Regions from separate parts of the Homo sapiens genome. Here regions 2 and 3 are each linked to region 1. The links are contacts of gene promoters, found by promoter capture Hi-C in human tissues and cell types (Jung and others, 2019). All regions are on one chromosome and are shown on one strand. The core of a region is centred on a gene start or on the middle of the fragment in contact, and the rest is flanking DNA. Distances in the headings are between cores, read along the strand shown. Region 1 holds the start of RRP7A (ribosomal RNA processing 7 homolog A). Region 2 overlaps MEI1 (meiotic double-stranded break formation protein 1). Region 3 holds the start of WBP2NL (WBP2 N-terminal like).

Region 1 (5,072 bases), core at 1-2,500:
GGTACACCAGGGCCTCACACATGCTGGCCTCTCTACCTGGCGTGTCACCCTCTTCCCTCCCGCTCACCTCAGGTTTAGCTCAAACCTCGCTTCCTCAGGAGAGCCTTAGCATCACCTCCGCCCCTCCTGCCAGCTCAGATCCCACTGCCTGTGCCTTCACAGCTTCTCTTAACAGTCTGGAGGCTATATTGATGAGATTCTTTGGTTAATCGCTGGCACACCCATGACTGTAATCCTCATAAAGCTAGGAACTGCTTCTATTTTTCTCACACCTCCGTCACAGTACCGGTTGGCGTAGAGCTGCGGTCCCTGAACTCAGGAAGCTCAGTTGCAATAACGGAGAAGACAATTAACAAGCATACAGCAAACTTGTATCAATTGTGAAAGAAACATTACAGGGTGATGGGGTGGCAGAGGTCTTCTTTCCATAGGCCATCACGGATGGCCTCTTTGAGGAAGCAACATTAAAGCTCAGGCCAGAACGCCACTGTGCAACAAACCGGCACAGCACGTGCAAAAACCCAGAGGGGGGAAAAAGCATGTTCCCTCAGAGGAACAGAAAGAGCTTTAGGTCGGCACCAGCCAGACCACGTGGCCCACACAGGTTAAGAAGTCTGGTTTTTGTTTTAGAAGCTACCTGATAAAGCCACTGGAGGGAATGCAGTAGGTGTGGCGCCTATCGTGGGCGCGGCAGACATGATCGAATCTAAATGTCCTTAAAAGAACATTCTGGCACGTGGGTGGAGAACAGAAGCAGGGGCAAGAGGAGAAGGAGGGCAACCGAGTAGGAGGGCCTATAACAGCCCAGGTAAGAGCTGATGGGGGATGGACTAGGAGCAGAGGCGATGAGAAGGGGATGGGCTCACCTGGACGAGCGGGTGTGGACGGAAATGGGTTTGTCCTGGGTGAGAGTGTGGACAGAGGCGGGCTCACCCAAGGGAAGCGTGGACCAAGTTGGGCTCGCCCCGGGAGAGTGAGCAGGCAGAAGGGCGCCGCCTGGGTCCTCGGGACCCCGGAGCCTCAAGACCTGCGGAGCCTGGGGCCACGGGCCACCGGGGCTCACACCCAACCGTGCGGCCGCTCCTGGGGACCCCCGGCCGTCGCCAACCCCCAAACACCTCCCGGCGATGCCTGACCGCCCCCGGTCTCGCGTCCCGGAGCCCCTCACCTGCGTAGCCCAGTGGGCTGGGGATACGGTCCTCCGGGTCCCGCGCGGCGCACTTCCTCCTGCGCGCCACCATCTTGCCACCCGGGAGCGCGGGGGCCGCCGGGAGTTGCGGTTCGGCGCCGGCGCGAGCGCGTTTTCGTGGCGCCTGCCCCGCCCCCTCACTCCAAGCCCGCCTCCCCGGCCCCGCCCGCCATGGCCCAACCTTCATCCGCTCAGAGATAAATCAGCGCGCGAAAGTGGGAGCGAATGTCAGAGTTGACCCCGGCCAGTCACGAGTGCGAACTCAGCTTTCCACTCATGCATTCACACGTTGAATAGGCAGTGTGAGAGAAATCCAGGATGGCTGCTAGGTTTTCAGTCTGAGCAACTAAGAGGATGGTGTTGCCATTGACTGAGATGGGAAGACTGCAGGAGAGGGGCCTGCTTGGGGGTGAAAATGGAGTAGATCAGTTCTCTGTGAGCCGTGGTGAGATGCCCATTAGGCCACTCAGGGGACATGTCAGGTGGGCACTTAGATATGAGACTGAACAGACTGAACATCAGAGATGTCAGGCCTGGAGCAATACACACGGGACTGGCCATGGATAGGTTATTGACAGTTACGAGAGGAGCCGGGTGCGGTGATTCATGCCTGTAATCCCAGCAATTTGGGAGGCCGAGGGGGGCGGATCACTTGAGGTCAGGAGTTCCAGACCAGCCTGGCCAACATGGTGAAACCCCGTGTCTACTAGGTACAAAAAGTAGCCGGGCGTGGTAGTGCATGCCTGTAATTCCAGCTACTCGGGAGGCTGAGGCAGGAGAATCGCTTGAACCCAGGAGGCGGAGATTGCAGTTAGCCAAGATCGCCCCACTGCAATCCAGCCTGGGCAACAGAGCGAGACTCTGTCTCAAAAAAAAAAGAAAGAGAAAAAAAAAGAAAGTTATGAGAGGGTGTGATCGCCAAGGGAGCAAGTGTAGATAGGGGAGAAATGAAGTCCAAGGACTCCACTTTTCTGGACTCCAAAGGGCCTCTCAGACTGTGTACCCGCCAGCCCTTGATGTATCTACTATTTCTCTTTTCCCAGTGTACAGTTGCTTCTTGGAAATGCTGTCGGCCCCTTTGGGGAAAGATTAGGAGCCTACTACTGCAAATATTTGTGGTCTGGAGGGGACCCAGCCTCCCTTTCAGTCAGTGACCTCTGGTTCTGAGGCCTAGCTTAGGCCTGGAAACTGGATGAGGGGTTGGGATTTTCCATCAGCAGCTGCCATTACTGTCCTGTTCGCTCGTTTTTTGTTTTTGATCTTTCTTTGCTTAGCGCAGTCAAGCAGTGTTGGGGCTTCCGTGGCCCCTGGGAATACCGTGGTCTACTAGCATTCACCAGAGACTCCTGTGCGCCCAGGATCCCTGGCAGCCACTCTGGCCTTGCTCCTGTTCTGACAGTCACATCAACCGAACCTCTGCTCTCTGGAATCCTATCTCCTGCTGACCTTTCCGAGCCCGGCTCCAGTCCTATTTGCCCTCTTCTACCCTGGCCTCAGAGGACGGCCATGCCGATTGCCCATTGATGCCTAGACCCCCCACTAGTCAAAGCAGTCTCTGGTGAACCCTCCAGAAATACGGTCATCTGGCTTCTCAGATGTTGCATAATAAATCTGTGCCTGCACATCCCCCTCCCCGAGGCCTTTGGCTCCTTCTCAGTGCCCTGCCACCATCGTTCTGTTATCTCCCTCTCATGTATTGCTTCCACGCTTCAAGGAGCCATCTCGATGGATATCAGGACTGGCCACACAACATCACTTTTTTTTTTTTTTTTTTGAGATGGAGTCTCGCTGTGTCGCCAGGCTGGAGTGCAGTGGCGCGATCTCCGCTCACTGCAACCTCCGCCTCCTGGGTTCAAGCAATTCTCCTGCATCAGCCTCCTGAGTAGCTGGGATTACAGGTGTGCACCACCATGACCAGCTAAATTTCTTATTTTTGATAGACACAGAGCTTCGCCATATTGGCCAGGATAGTCTCGATCTCTTGGCCTTGTGATCCGCCCACCTCGGCTTCCCAAAGTGCTGGGATTACAGGCATAAGCCTTTTTTTTTTTTTTTTTTTTTTTTTTTTGAGACGGAGTCTCACTCTGCTGACACCCAGGCTGGAGTGCAGTGCTGCCATCTCAGCTTACTGCAACCTCCACCTCCCGGGTTCAAGCAATTCTCCTGCCTCAGCCTCCCAAGTAGCTGGGATTACAGGCATGTGCCACCACACCCAGCTACTTTTTTGTATTTTTAGTAGAGACAGGGTTTACCATGTTGGCCAGGCTGGTCTTGATCTCCTGACCTCAGATGATCTGCCCACCTCGGCCTCCCAAAGTGCTGAGATTACAGGTGTGAGCCACTGCACCCAGCCTAGAATTCAAGACTCTTGAGCCCATCTATCCAGACGTTCCCTGCCCTAGGTGACAGTGTCCGCTCCTTCACTTCTGTGCTCCTTGACTGGAGCACAGCACTTAGCACAGCCGTTCATCTGCCCTGATTCAAACTCCACAGTTCTCATCAGGTTCTAGGCCTTTATCAGCACAATGTGACCTGTCTTTAAACACGTCTCTGGAAGCCCCTCCTGATTTTCACCTTGGGCTATAAGTTGATAAATGGCTGTCCTGAGGCCTGTTGTTTTCTTCCTTCAGCCCACTGATGCCACTCGATCAATTAACTCCACTTTCTTTATAATTACCACTGCCCATGTATTTCATGGGTCAGGAATTTGGGCAATGCTCTGCTAGGAGATTTTGTTTCTCCCTGTGGCACTGACTGAGGGCATTTGATGGTATTCAGCTGGCATATGGGCTGCACTAAAGGTTCCAAGTCACTTCACTCACATCGCAGCATCTCAGCAGATGAGTCCGGCATCTCAGCAGGGATGGCTGGTGATAGAGTTTGAGTATTTGTCTCCGCCCAAATCGCATGTTAAATTGTAATCCCCAGTGCTAGAGGTGGGGCCTGGTGGGAAGTGTTTGGATCATGGGGGCCTCATGGCTTGGCGCCGTCTTTGCGTCTTTGCGATCGCGAGTTCTCGCGAGATCTGTTTGTTTAAAAATGGGTGGCTGCTTCACCCCCCACTTTGTTGGTCAGGCTTTCACCATGTGAAGTGACCCCTCACACTTCGCCTTCCACCATGAGTCAAAGCTCCCTGAGGCCTCCCCAGAAGCAGATGCAGCCATGCTTCCCGTACAGCCTGCAGAACCAATTCAACGTCTTGGCTTTATAAATTCCCCAGTCTCAGGTATTTCTTCATAGCAGTGCAAGAATGGCCGAATATGGCTGGGCTCAAGTGGGACTTGTCAACTAGAGCACCCACCCATGGATTTCCTAGCATGTGGTCTCAGTAGTCAACTTTTTTTTTTTTTCCTGCTTGCTGGGAGGAGGAGGAGGGAGAAGCGACGGGCTTCATTAGGAACGGTGAGTTTGCGACTCTGCCGCTAAGTGGCAGCTCCAGCTCACCCCCCCAGCTCCCTCCCACAGGCCACGGCTGGGCATGGAGAACTGGTGACTTCAGAGGCCCGGAGAGAAAAGACGGGGGAGAGCGAGGGGCCGCCGTGCCTGAGGTCTGGGGGTGACAGCAGAGGATGGCCAAGGAGTGCAGGGCCAGGTTGCCCTGCCCTGTCTAAGAGAGTCTTACCGAATATAGAGGTTGAATTGTGCTCCCCAAGAGACATGTTGAAGTATGTTTTTTTTGAGATGAAGTCTCACACTGTCTCCCGGGCTGGTGTGCAGTGGGCGATCTTGGCTTGCTGCAGCCTCCACCTCCCGGGTTCAAGTGATTCTCCTGCCTCAGCCTCCCGAGTAGCTGGGACTACAGGCGTGCGCCACCACGCCTGGCTAATTTTTGTATTTTTTTTTTTTTTTTTGAGATGGAGTCTTGCTCTGTTGCCCAGGCTGA
Region 2 (5,072 bases), core at 1,151-3,650, 740 kb before region 1:
ATGCAAACTGATTAACCTGCCCCAGTTTTCTCATTTGAAAAATTGGGGTGACACCTATATGGAAGAGTTATTGTAGAGGTATAAATAATGTATAAACAAATATACAGCTACTGTATAAACACAACATAGTACCTGACATTATTAGGCCCTGAGTGGTTGTTATTGATATATAGTTGTTTTTCCAGCAACTGCGGAGGTTTCTGAGAGCCAAACTTAGACATCCCTGTGACCCCATCCCTCTCCTTCTGCCCAGTGATCAGCACACCTGGGTTTGTCTGGCCAGATGCATTGTAGCCATATCTCTCTGTGTGTCAGTAGCTGTCCTCCCTGGAGAGGGAGTCTGTGTGACCTTGGATTCATAACCCTCAGTCCTAACTGGCCCAGCGCATTAGCCTGTCCAAAGGAATTGGCTTCTTTGAGCTAGCAGGTGCCAGGAGCTATCAGTAGGGTAGCCTCTGGTGCAGCTTTCTGACTGGCTTTGTCTTTAACATATACTCACTAAAATAACTCTGAAAGCAAAATAAAAAGCATCTTCCCATCTTCCGAGCCTAAGACCTTTATAGCTTGGGGCAGAGATAACCAGATGCCTTGGTAGAGAACGGGCCTGACCTGGTCCTCACTTGCCTTTCTGTGCACTGAATCTGTCCTAATTTATCCTCTGCCTGCCCAGTGACATCATTTCTCTTTCCTTCTTCTCTTCTTTAAGGCACACTCAGGTTCCCTGTCTTGAAAACAACCTCTTGACCCTAATCCTACCATTTGCAGGAGGGAGGCATCCTGGAAAATAGAGCTTTGGGCTTGGAGTTAGGAGACTTGCATTCAAATTCTGTCTGTGCCACTGGCTTATATGACCTTTAGCAAGTCATGTAATCTCTCTGAGCCTGTTTTCTCCTGTTTAGGATGGATTTAATAGGATGGACCTATTCTTTTTTTTTTTTTTTTTGAGACAGAGTTTTGCTCTGTCACCCAGTCTAGAGTGCAGTAGTGCGATCTCGGCTCACTGCAAGCCCCGCCTCCCGGGTTCATGCCATCCTCCTGTCTCAGCCTCCGGAGTAGCTGGGACTACAGGCACTTGCCACCACGCCCAGCTAATTTTTTTGTATTTTTAGTAAAGACGGGGTTTCACCGTGTTAGCCAGGATGGTCTCAATCTCCTGACCTCGTGATCCACCCGCCTTGGCCTCCCAAAGTGCTGGGATTACATGCGTGAGCCACCATGCACGGCCTAGGATGGACCTATTCTAAGGGATGGTTTTGAGGCGTCAGTGCACCTAGAAGAGCCTTTGGTACATAATAGGTGCTGAGTAAGTGACAGATTACCCAGTTTTTGTGACATCATAATTATGGGCCCTTTTCCTGCCCCTCTATTCCTCATTGTCACTTTTCCCCAACTGCAGTACCCTCTGATCTCTGGCTTTCTTCTCTCCTGCTCAGGACCTCATCTATTCCAGCCCAGTGGACACAGCTCACAAGGTACTGATTAGCCTGAGGACCTTCCTGAGGAGGAATGAGGATATCCAAGTGGGCGGTCTTATCCGAGGCCACTTCCTGCTGATCCTGCAGCGTCTGCTAGTGGAGCATGGGGCATCCCCATCAGGAGGTCAGTCTGCAGGTGCTGTGGGCACACTTTGACCTGAAAGCCAGTCGAGAATGGGCATCTCTACCCTTGTTAGGTCTGCTCCAGGAGAGAGAATCAGGGTTTTATCTGAAAAAGAAAGCCAGGCCATTGTGGCATCAAGCTAAACTTCACCTCCTTTCTCTCACTGCAGAGTGGGCGTACAACATGCTTGGTTTGCTGTGTGTGTGTTTAACATGAGTGGATGTGTTTGATGTGTGCATGCATATCCCCACCCTGTGCAGCATGTGCTCAGTGTTGTTTGTCACAAGCATGGCAGCCCCCTGTGGGAAGAAGAAAGTGAGAAATCTGGAGGAGGATGGAGGCAGCAGCAGTCCGCAGGGGCTGGGGAGGGAGGTGGATCTGTGATGTGTTGGAAGCTCCTAGTGAGATCCGGGGGATTAGTTTCCAAATCTGGAATGGTACTCACTGGAGTCAAGGAAGCTTGATGTTTGGTACAGTATGGAGACACTGAAAATTTGGATTGGTTTATTTTATTGTATTTATTTATTTTATATTTTATGTATTTATTTTATTATTATTTTATTTTTGAGACAGTCTCACTCTGTCACCCACGCTGGAGTGCAGTGGCAAGATCTCTGCTCACTGCAACCTCTACTTTCCAGGTTCAAGCAATTCTTGTGCCTCAGCCTCCCAAGTAGCTGGGACTTACAGGTGTGTGCCACGACACCCAGCTAATTTTTTTGTATTTTCAGGAGAGACGGGGTTTCACCATGTTGCCCAGGGTGGTCTCAAACCCCTGAGCTCAAGTGATCCGCCCACCTCAGCCTCCCAAAGTGGTTGGATTACAGGGGTGAGCCACTGCGCCCAGCTTAGTTTTTTTCTATTTTTAGAGAAGCTGAATTTTAAAAATAATTTTTTTTTTTTTTTGAGAGAGGGTCTCACTCTGTCGTTCAGGCTGGTGTGCAGTGGCGTGATCTCGGCTCACTGCAACCTTCACGTCCTGGGTTCAAGTGATTCTTCTGCCTCAGCCTCCATAGTAGCTGGAATTACAGGCATGCGCCACTGCACCTGGCTAATTTTTTGTATTTTTATTAGAGGTGGGTTTCACTATATTGGCCAGGCTGGTCTCGAACTCCTGACCTCAAGTGATCCGCCCGCCTCAGCCTCCCAAAGTGCTTGGATTACAGGTGTGAGCTACCACACTCGGCCTAAAATTATATTTCTAAGCAAAGCGAAAGGCAATCTGTGGCTACCTGACAGAGGACTGAGGGTTTGGAAGTAGATTTAAAGGTGTCAAGAGGAGATGAGTTATTTCTTTTCAGGGAAGGACAAGCCATGTTTAGCTGATAATACTGGTTAAGAACCTTAAGATGTAGTGGAAACATAGTGGGAAGGCCATGGGCATTGGATTCAGATTTGGGTCTATTTGGGCCATAGACTGGGTGACTTATAAACAACAGGAATTTATTTCTCCCAGTTTTGGGGGCTGGGAAATCCAAAATCAAGGTACTGAAAGATTCAGTGTCTGGTGAAGGCCTACTTCCTGGTTCATAAATGGCTGTCTTCTTTCCTTCCTTCCCTCCTTCCTTCCTTCATTCCTTCCCTGCTTCCTTCCTTCCTTCCTTCGTTCCTTCCTTCCATCCATCCTTCTTTCTCCTTCATCTTCTTCTTTCTTCTTCTTCTTTTCTTCTTCTCCTCTTGTTCTTCTTCCTCTTTTCCTCCTCTTTCCCCTCCTTCTCCCCTCCCTCCTCCTCCTTCCTTCCTTCTCCTCCTTTCTTCCTTCTCCTCCTTTCTTCCTCCTCCTTCTCCCCTGCCCCCCACAGCCTTGACCTCCTAGGCTCAAGCAATCCCCCAACCTCAGACTCCTGAGTAGCTGGGGTTATAGGCATGTGCCAGCATGATGACTTGTCTTCTTACTGTGTCCTCACATGACAGAAGGGGTGAGGGAGGGAGCTCCTCGCAGTTTCTTTCAAAAGGCCACTCATCCCATTCATGAAGATTCTACCCTCATGATTCAGTCATCTACCAAAGGCCTCACTTCCTAATACTATTACATTGGGGGTTAAGATTTCAACATGAATTTTGGAGGAACACAAACATTCAGACCACAGCATCCTGCCACTTTCTGGCTGTGGGACCTTGGAGAAGTCACTCAGCCTCTCTGAGCCTCAATTTTGTAAGTGCAAAATAGGAATAACAATCCATGCTTCACATTTTGTTTAGTGGGATTAAATGAAATAATGAATTCCTGGTACCAACCTATGTCTGGCACTTAGTATATCAGTTACGCCTGTTCTAAATGAAGAAAGAAATAGGAGTAAATCCCAACAAAACACCTCACCCCTTAGGAAACAAAAAACTTTGAACCTGTTATTAAGGGCCATTGAAGCAGGGCAGGGTGTCTGACCTTCAGGTGATCTGAGCATCAGGCTTCTTGCCCAGTCCTCCTTGTTCTTCACAGCCTCGGGGAACCTACCATTGCTGCTGAGCCTCCTCTCCCTGATGCAGCTCAGGAATGTGTCAGAGCAAGAACTGGACAGCGTGGCCATGAAGCTCCTTCACCAAGGTGCCCTGGCTGCTTGGGATAGCGCCCAAGGGCCCAGGGCTGGACGTGCAGTGGGTGCTCACTAAGTAGGCTGGTGTTCTTCTTTCTTCTACTCTTTCATCCCTTTGGAAGAAGCTAGTAGGTCAGTCTGTCCCTAGGGTTTTCTTGCTAAAGGACCTCTCAGGGCTTTCTCTGCTTGTTCTCTGGGAATGTTTGGGAGACACCCTACCTCTGCAAAAAATCAGCATTATGAGGCCAGGGGGGTGCTCATGCCTGTAATCCCAGCACTTTGGGTGTTTGAGGCCGGAGGATTGTTTGAAGCCAGGAGTTCAAGACCAGCCTGGGCAACATAGCAAGATCCTGCCTCTACAAACTGCCAGGCCTAGTGGCTCACGCCTATAATCCTAGCACTTTGGGAGGCTGAGGCAGCATGTCGTTTGAGCTCAGGAGTTCAAGACCAGCCTTGGCAACATGGTGAAACCCTGTCTCTACAAAAAAAATACAAATAATTAGCTGTGTGTCGTGATGCAGACCTATATATAGTCCCAGCAACTTGGGAAGGCCGAGGCGGGAGGATTGCTTGAGCCCAGGACGTCAAGGCTGCAGTGAGCTATGATCTCACCACTGCACCCAGCCTGGGCAATGGAGTGAGACCTCGTCCCTAAAACAAACAAATCTGTATGACAGGCACAAGCTCTAGAGTCAGGAAGGCCTGGGTTTGAATCTCAGCTTAGTCACTAGCAATCATCTAGTCTCTGTGAGTCTTAGGTTCCTCATAGGTAAAGTAGTAGTACTTTCCTAAACTAGGGTTAAGATACGGAATACTTATCTAGTTGTTAAGATAAGGAATACTTATCTAGTTAGATAGAGAATGTCACACAGTGCTTGACACACAGTAGACCTTCAACAGATCCTATTCATGCAGATTCCTTTTTTCCTGGCACAAGGT
Region 3 (5,072 bases), core at 1,798-4,297, 520 kb before region 1:
CTGTAGTCAAGCACCTGAACAGGCCCTGAGCTCACAGGCAGCCAATGTAAAGAGGGAAACACAGTGAGTTATGCAGTTCCCAGTGTCCAGTTAAAGGAAGCACACATGCTAGTCATGTGAGACAACCTTTTATTGGGACATCAGGTTCTAGAACTAATTCTAAAGAAGTATCAGAAACAATATACATAATTTGTCTTTCTTAGTAATTTGGCTTCAAAGACAAATTTTTGACCACACCTCCGTTTTCTCCGTCAGACTTCTCTCCCTTCTAAGCAGGCTTCTCTGTTGCTCCATTTGCTTCATACATACTTGACCTCTCTTTTCTATTCCCCATCACTTTTGTGCTGAAGCTAATCATATTTATGTCTGTCTTTCTCTACTTTTCCCTAATTCCCTCTCCTCCTGACTCCTGTAGACATTCCCAATGATACCCACCGTCATACATTTAGGCTTTTCTTGCCTTTCCCTGAAGCCCTGTATTTATTAATGCATATATTTCCCCTGCTTGTTGTACAAGTAAGTTACTCTTTTCCTTTAATCTGTAAGATTCATGAAATTCGGGGCCAGGGAAACAGTTTAGCCTTAGGGAAGGGAAAACACTAAGTGAAACTGTTTACAATAACCTCATACAACCTTCTGTCCCATCTCCTGGTTCAGCCTAGGTGTTTCACTGGTCCTCTATGAATCCCAGCACTTATAATCCCAGTCTTTTATCACTCAGGTGCTAGGAAAAAAAACATAGACTCAAGACCCAAGATTCAATGGACCAGGAGAAAGGGGGGCGGTGATCAGGTCACCAGTGACCCCAACCTATGCTCTCGGTCTTTCCTGGAGGCTGCCAACCCAGCCCTCATCCTCCCTTGCTCACAAAGTTACAGGGTAGGCACCTGTCAGGACAGAACAGCAGCAGCGCTACAGCCCAGAGGTTATACATTTCAACAGAACAGGGATCCTTGGCTACTGTAGAAGCAGTCCTGTATGGAGACCTTGGACCAGCAGGGGAAGATCTATGGGCATGGGAGGTGGGCGTTGGAAAGGCTGAGTAGGAATGGTGCCTGGCACCCCTGAACCATGATCTGAGCCTCCCTGGAGAAGGTATTTTATATGTCTGCTGCCAGCTGCTGGTCTCCACACCCTCAACCGTTCTCAACCCCCCTGCAGGGAGAAGGCCTCCTGGGCACTGTCCTTCCACCTGTGCCAGCCACCCCCTGCCCCACTGCTGAATGAAGGCCATTTCAAGCGCTGCTTCTCACTCCATTCCTCTCAGCTGTTATTGCTGCAGGGCCAAGCCCTTTTTAGTGCTGTGCTCGTCCAGCTCACCACCACAGCCCCTCTCAGCCCTCAGTAGGTGGGAGGGGCCAGCTGCCTCTTTAGGCCAGTTGCATCCTCCATTTATCCAAACCACTCCTCTCCTCCCAGTGGAGTGGGGTTCTGCCAGTACAGCCCTACTGCATCATCTGCGTCAGCCGGTCCTAGCCCATCTGCAGGGTGAAAGAACTCATCAAGAGCTCCTTCTGCCCTTGTAAGCCCATCCCAGCTACTTGTAACCATCTCTAAGGGCAATGGCATTGCTCCCTACCCATTCATCTGCATGAGCTACTCTTGGCTTCCTTAAAGGGTCAAGAAAGCAATTTTTCTGCTTACTAGATTCATTGAGATCAGCTGTGTGAGCCCCAAAGTGGGACAAGGGTGTCTCCTTCATTACTTAAAGATATTCATGAGGGTGGGTCACTACAGATGTTGGGGAGCAAGGGCTAGGATCACTTTTTAAAAAATCACCACTTGTGGCTGTCCCAGAGTGCGGTTGTACATCCTCCCCACCTCATAACGCAGCCACTGAGGAAGAGTGGTTTTCCTAAGAAGACATTGCTGGAGTTGACTTTCTTCTGTCCAAACAAACAAACAAAAACTAAACACACACACAAACCCCCAGAAACCCACAATATGTACACGCTAAGGAAAAACTAGCACCCTTCTGTCCACTCAGCAATAAGAGGGATCTCTTCCCACCTACCCTACCTACTCCTACCCCCAACCCCCTTCCCCATTAATGTGAGTAATGAATTAGCCTGACCACAGGTGGTCACTGTAGGCTAATGGAAAATACCCAAGGGAGGGCAAAGCCCCCCATCAGATGCATGAATGTTTGCGAATGTTGACTGCCACTGCCCCACACACTGTGTCTTTATAGAATTCCCCTTTGCCCACCCTCTTCCTGTCTCCACCTGGACACAACTTGCTCAAAGGCTGGTGACTTGTGGGCCATTCATCTACAACCAAGTCCTGATGGAGCAAGAGGCCCACGCCTAGGGGATGCAAGAACAACCCGTTTCTTAAATGTTACCAGTCCCAGCCAATCTTACGGTGACATTACAGTTAAATTTCCCAATTGAAAACAAGCAAACAGACACTCAAACTGGTCCTGTAATTGTTGCTAGACTTTATGTGTTGTACAACTAAACATTGCTGTTTGAACAGTAACTGCCTGGCCTGTCTTATTTGTGCTCCTTGACCAAATCAGCCATTATGTCATCTCACCCATGTGTGGAGGGTGAGACTCTCTTGGTAAGAAATAGCCACAGATATTAGAGATGAAAACACTTTGTGAGGTCAGTTCATCTTCAGTTGGCGTCAGGTCGGGCCTCAGTCATTATTTTCTAGTGTTTCATAACCAAAGTGAGTAATGGATGGGAGGTTGAGGTGGGAAGATGGCTTGAGCATGGGAGGTTGGAGGTGCAGTGAGCTGAGATCATTCCTGACAGGACCAACCCAAGTCCATACCTAAAGGCAGGGGGCTAAGGGGGCAGGTGAGGTCGGGAGGCCACTCACCTATCACTCACCCCTTCGCGCTCGAGCCAATTCTCAGGGCCCGCCTCTTTCTCCCCTTTCTCGGCGGGGGCCTCTACCCTGACTCCGCCCCGCTCCCCGGGCACTGCCCCACCACGTGACCCGGTCTCGCTCCTCCTCCTCCTCCTCCTTACGTCATAATCTCCGCCCTCCCCTTCAGAACCGCGCCCCACAGCTCGGCGCAGGTCCCGCCCCTTTCCATCTACGGGGCGGCAGGAGGCCCGAAGCAAGATGGCGGTGAATCAGAGCCACACCGAGAACCGCCGCGGAGCCCTCATCCCTAACGGTGAAAGGTGCCTGAGGGGAAGCACGGCGTGCTGTCGGAGGAGAGGAGACGAATGAGATAGACATGGCGGCTCGCAAACTCTCAGCGAGTCAGGGACTTTGCCGCCTTTTTTGGGCGCGGCGCTCTTAGCTCCGCCCCCGACCTTTGGGAGCGCGCGCCCCTCACTGGTGTTCCGGCATGTGGAGGTGGCGGAGGCCGGAACGCGTGGCCTCGCGCGTTTGAGGGGTGGGGGTGGGAATGCGCCTTTTCAAGGCGCGGGGCCCAGACGCATGTCTCCTCAGGGCGGGGCGGGGAGGGGGTGCGAGACGCGTGTGTCCTTCGAAGAGAGGCCGGAGCTGACCGGCGGTTGTGAGCAGCCGGGGGCCTTCGGTGGCAGCGTGGCTGCCCTTGGGTGCCTGCGACTTTGTTGGATGAGGACAGGTACTGGGTGTGTATCTCCTCCTACTTCCACGAACAAGGTGTCGCTCTTTGGTAAGAGGGATGAGGAGGTCGAGTGTGGATCATTCTGGAAAGATCTCAAACTGTTGTGGGGCTTCTCCTTGGACCTGGAAACTTTCTAAAGCCATGTTTCCTCCTTGCTCCAACCAGGGAGATGTCTGCTTTTAAAAACAAAATTGAAAAAATTGAGGCCAGGTGCAGTGGCTCATGCCTCTTATCCCAACAGTTTGGGAAGCTGAGGTGGCCCAGGAGTTTGAGACAAGACTGGGCAACATAGTGAGACCCCATCTCTACAAAAAGTAGAAAATTAGTGGGCCATGGTGGTGTGCACCCATAATCCCAGCTGCTTGGGAGGCGATGGTAAGAGGATTGCTTGAACCCAGGAGTTTGGGCTGCAGTGAGCTCAGATTGTACCACTGCACTCCAGCCTGGGTAACAGAGCCAGATCCTGTCTTAAAATAAAAGATGGGACTGAACAGATGCCTGGGCACAACAAAGCACTGTTGGTCGCAGGAAGCTGTGGGGCTTACACCAGTTGCTTTGCTCCTTGCGGTGCCTGCTGCTGGCCCCTGAGCTCTCTACTGGAGCAGACTCAGCCAGAGGGGTGCCCATCTCCACCTTCAAGCACACTTGTTCACTAAGGCCTGACTCCACTGCGCTCACCTCTTTACCCCACACGCCCCCTTTCCCGTTTCCTACACTCAAACTCAGTCTCCCCCGCTGTGCAGTTCTAAATTGCGCTCCTTTCTGGGCTCTGACTTGCCCTCAATTTCCTTTTCTCCCAACCAGCATTGAAACTCAAGCTGGATGATGTGCTTGGGGCCAGCACACTCAGGTCAGTTTGAATGTAGTTGTCAGGAAGATCGAAGTAGACGTTACCAAATGCTGATATCCAGGTCTTTCTTCTATCTTTCCTTCCTCCAGAAAGTTTTCTTGACAGATTTATATGGGCCTTAGAGGTTGTATGTTCTCACCTGCTTCCTACGTACCTCTGCTGCTTTGTTCCATTTTGTGGTAGATGATTGCTCACCACTCTGACAGTGGTGTCCCCGTGAGCACTTACTGAGAGCCATTTGAGCACTTGTCATTCCATGGTGTGAAGCCTTTCTTTTCTTTTCTTTTTTCTTTTCTTAAGATATTTTTATTTCTCCAAATTTGTTATTTATTAGGAGTGACTGAAATAAAAAACATAATTGAGTCCCATCATCATCATCATCATAGAAATGGCTTTAAGAGAAAACTGGTCAGATGACTATTATTGCTTCCCATTTCCAACCAGTGAATAGTTGCCACTGATAAATTGACAGCGAGGAGTCTGTCAAGAATGCTCAAGATAGCCGGGCGCGGTGGCCCACGCCTGTAATCCCAGCACTTTGGGAGGCCCAGGTGGGTGGATCACAAGATCGGGAGTTCAGGAGCAGCCTGGCCAATATGTTGAAACCCCATCTCTACTAAAAATACAAAAAAAAAAAAAACAGCCGGGAGTGGTGGCGGATGTCTG

Evidence for each region. Contacts are between HindIII fragments. The study calls those that stand out against the background at their distance.
Region 2: a contact is called between a fragment that was not itself captured here and the fragment with the promoter of RRP7A in region 1, in 1 of the 25 tissues and cell types used here (heart right ventricle).
Region 3: a contact is called between the fragment with the promoter of WBP2NL here and the fragment with the promoter of RRP7A in region 1, in 1 of the 25 tissues and cell types used here (spleen).

The regions. Positions count from the first base shown.
Region 1 is chr22:42,518,546-42,523,617 of GRCh38, forward strand. RRP7A (ribosomal RNA processing 7 homolog A) reads right to left here and starts at 1,251. Exons shown (of 7, transcript NM_015703.5): 1 at 1,169-1,251. The coding sequence starts at 1,241. LOC124900479 (a long non-coding RNA gene) reads left to right here. Exons shown (of 3, transcript XR_007068117.1): 1 at 1-808. RefSeq lists silencers at 1,003-1,132, 1,143-1,312, 1,333-1,392 and enhancers at 1,573-1,632, 2,158-2,452. The HindIII fragment of the contact is 27,172 bases long and covers 1-5,072 here.
Region 2 is chr22:41,774,669-41,779,740 of GRCh38, forward strand. MEI1 (meiotic double-stranded break formation protein 1) reads left to right here. Exons shown (of 31, transcript NM_152513.4): 21 at 1,434-1,599; 22 at 4,040-4,144. Among named protein-coding and RNA genes, the nearest start is that of CCDC134, 23 kb to the right of the region's middle. The HindIII fragment of the contact is 7,041 bases long and covers 1-5,072 here.
Region 3 is chr22:41,995,741-42,000,812 of GRCh38, forward strand. It overlaps WBP2NL (WBP2 N-terminal like), which reads left to right and starts at 3,048. Exons shown (of 6, transcript NM_152613.3): 1 at 3,048-3,140. The coding sequence starts at 3,079. It overlaps SEPTIN3 (septin 3), which reads left to right. Exons shown (of 12, transcript NM_001363845.2): 12 at 1,162-2,481. The coding sequence ends at 1,227. It also overlaps the pseudogene SLC25A5P1. RefSeq lists enhancers at 2,598-3,114, 3,115-3,629, 4,964-5,072 and a silencer at 2,941-3,000. The HindIII fragment of the contact is 18,305 bases long and covers 1-5,072 here.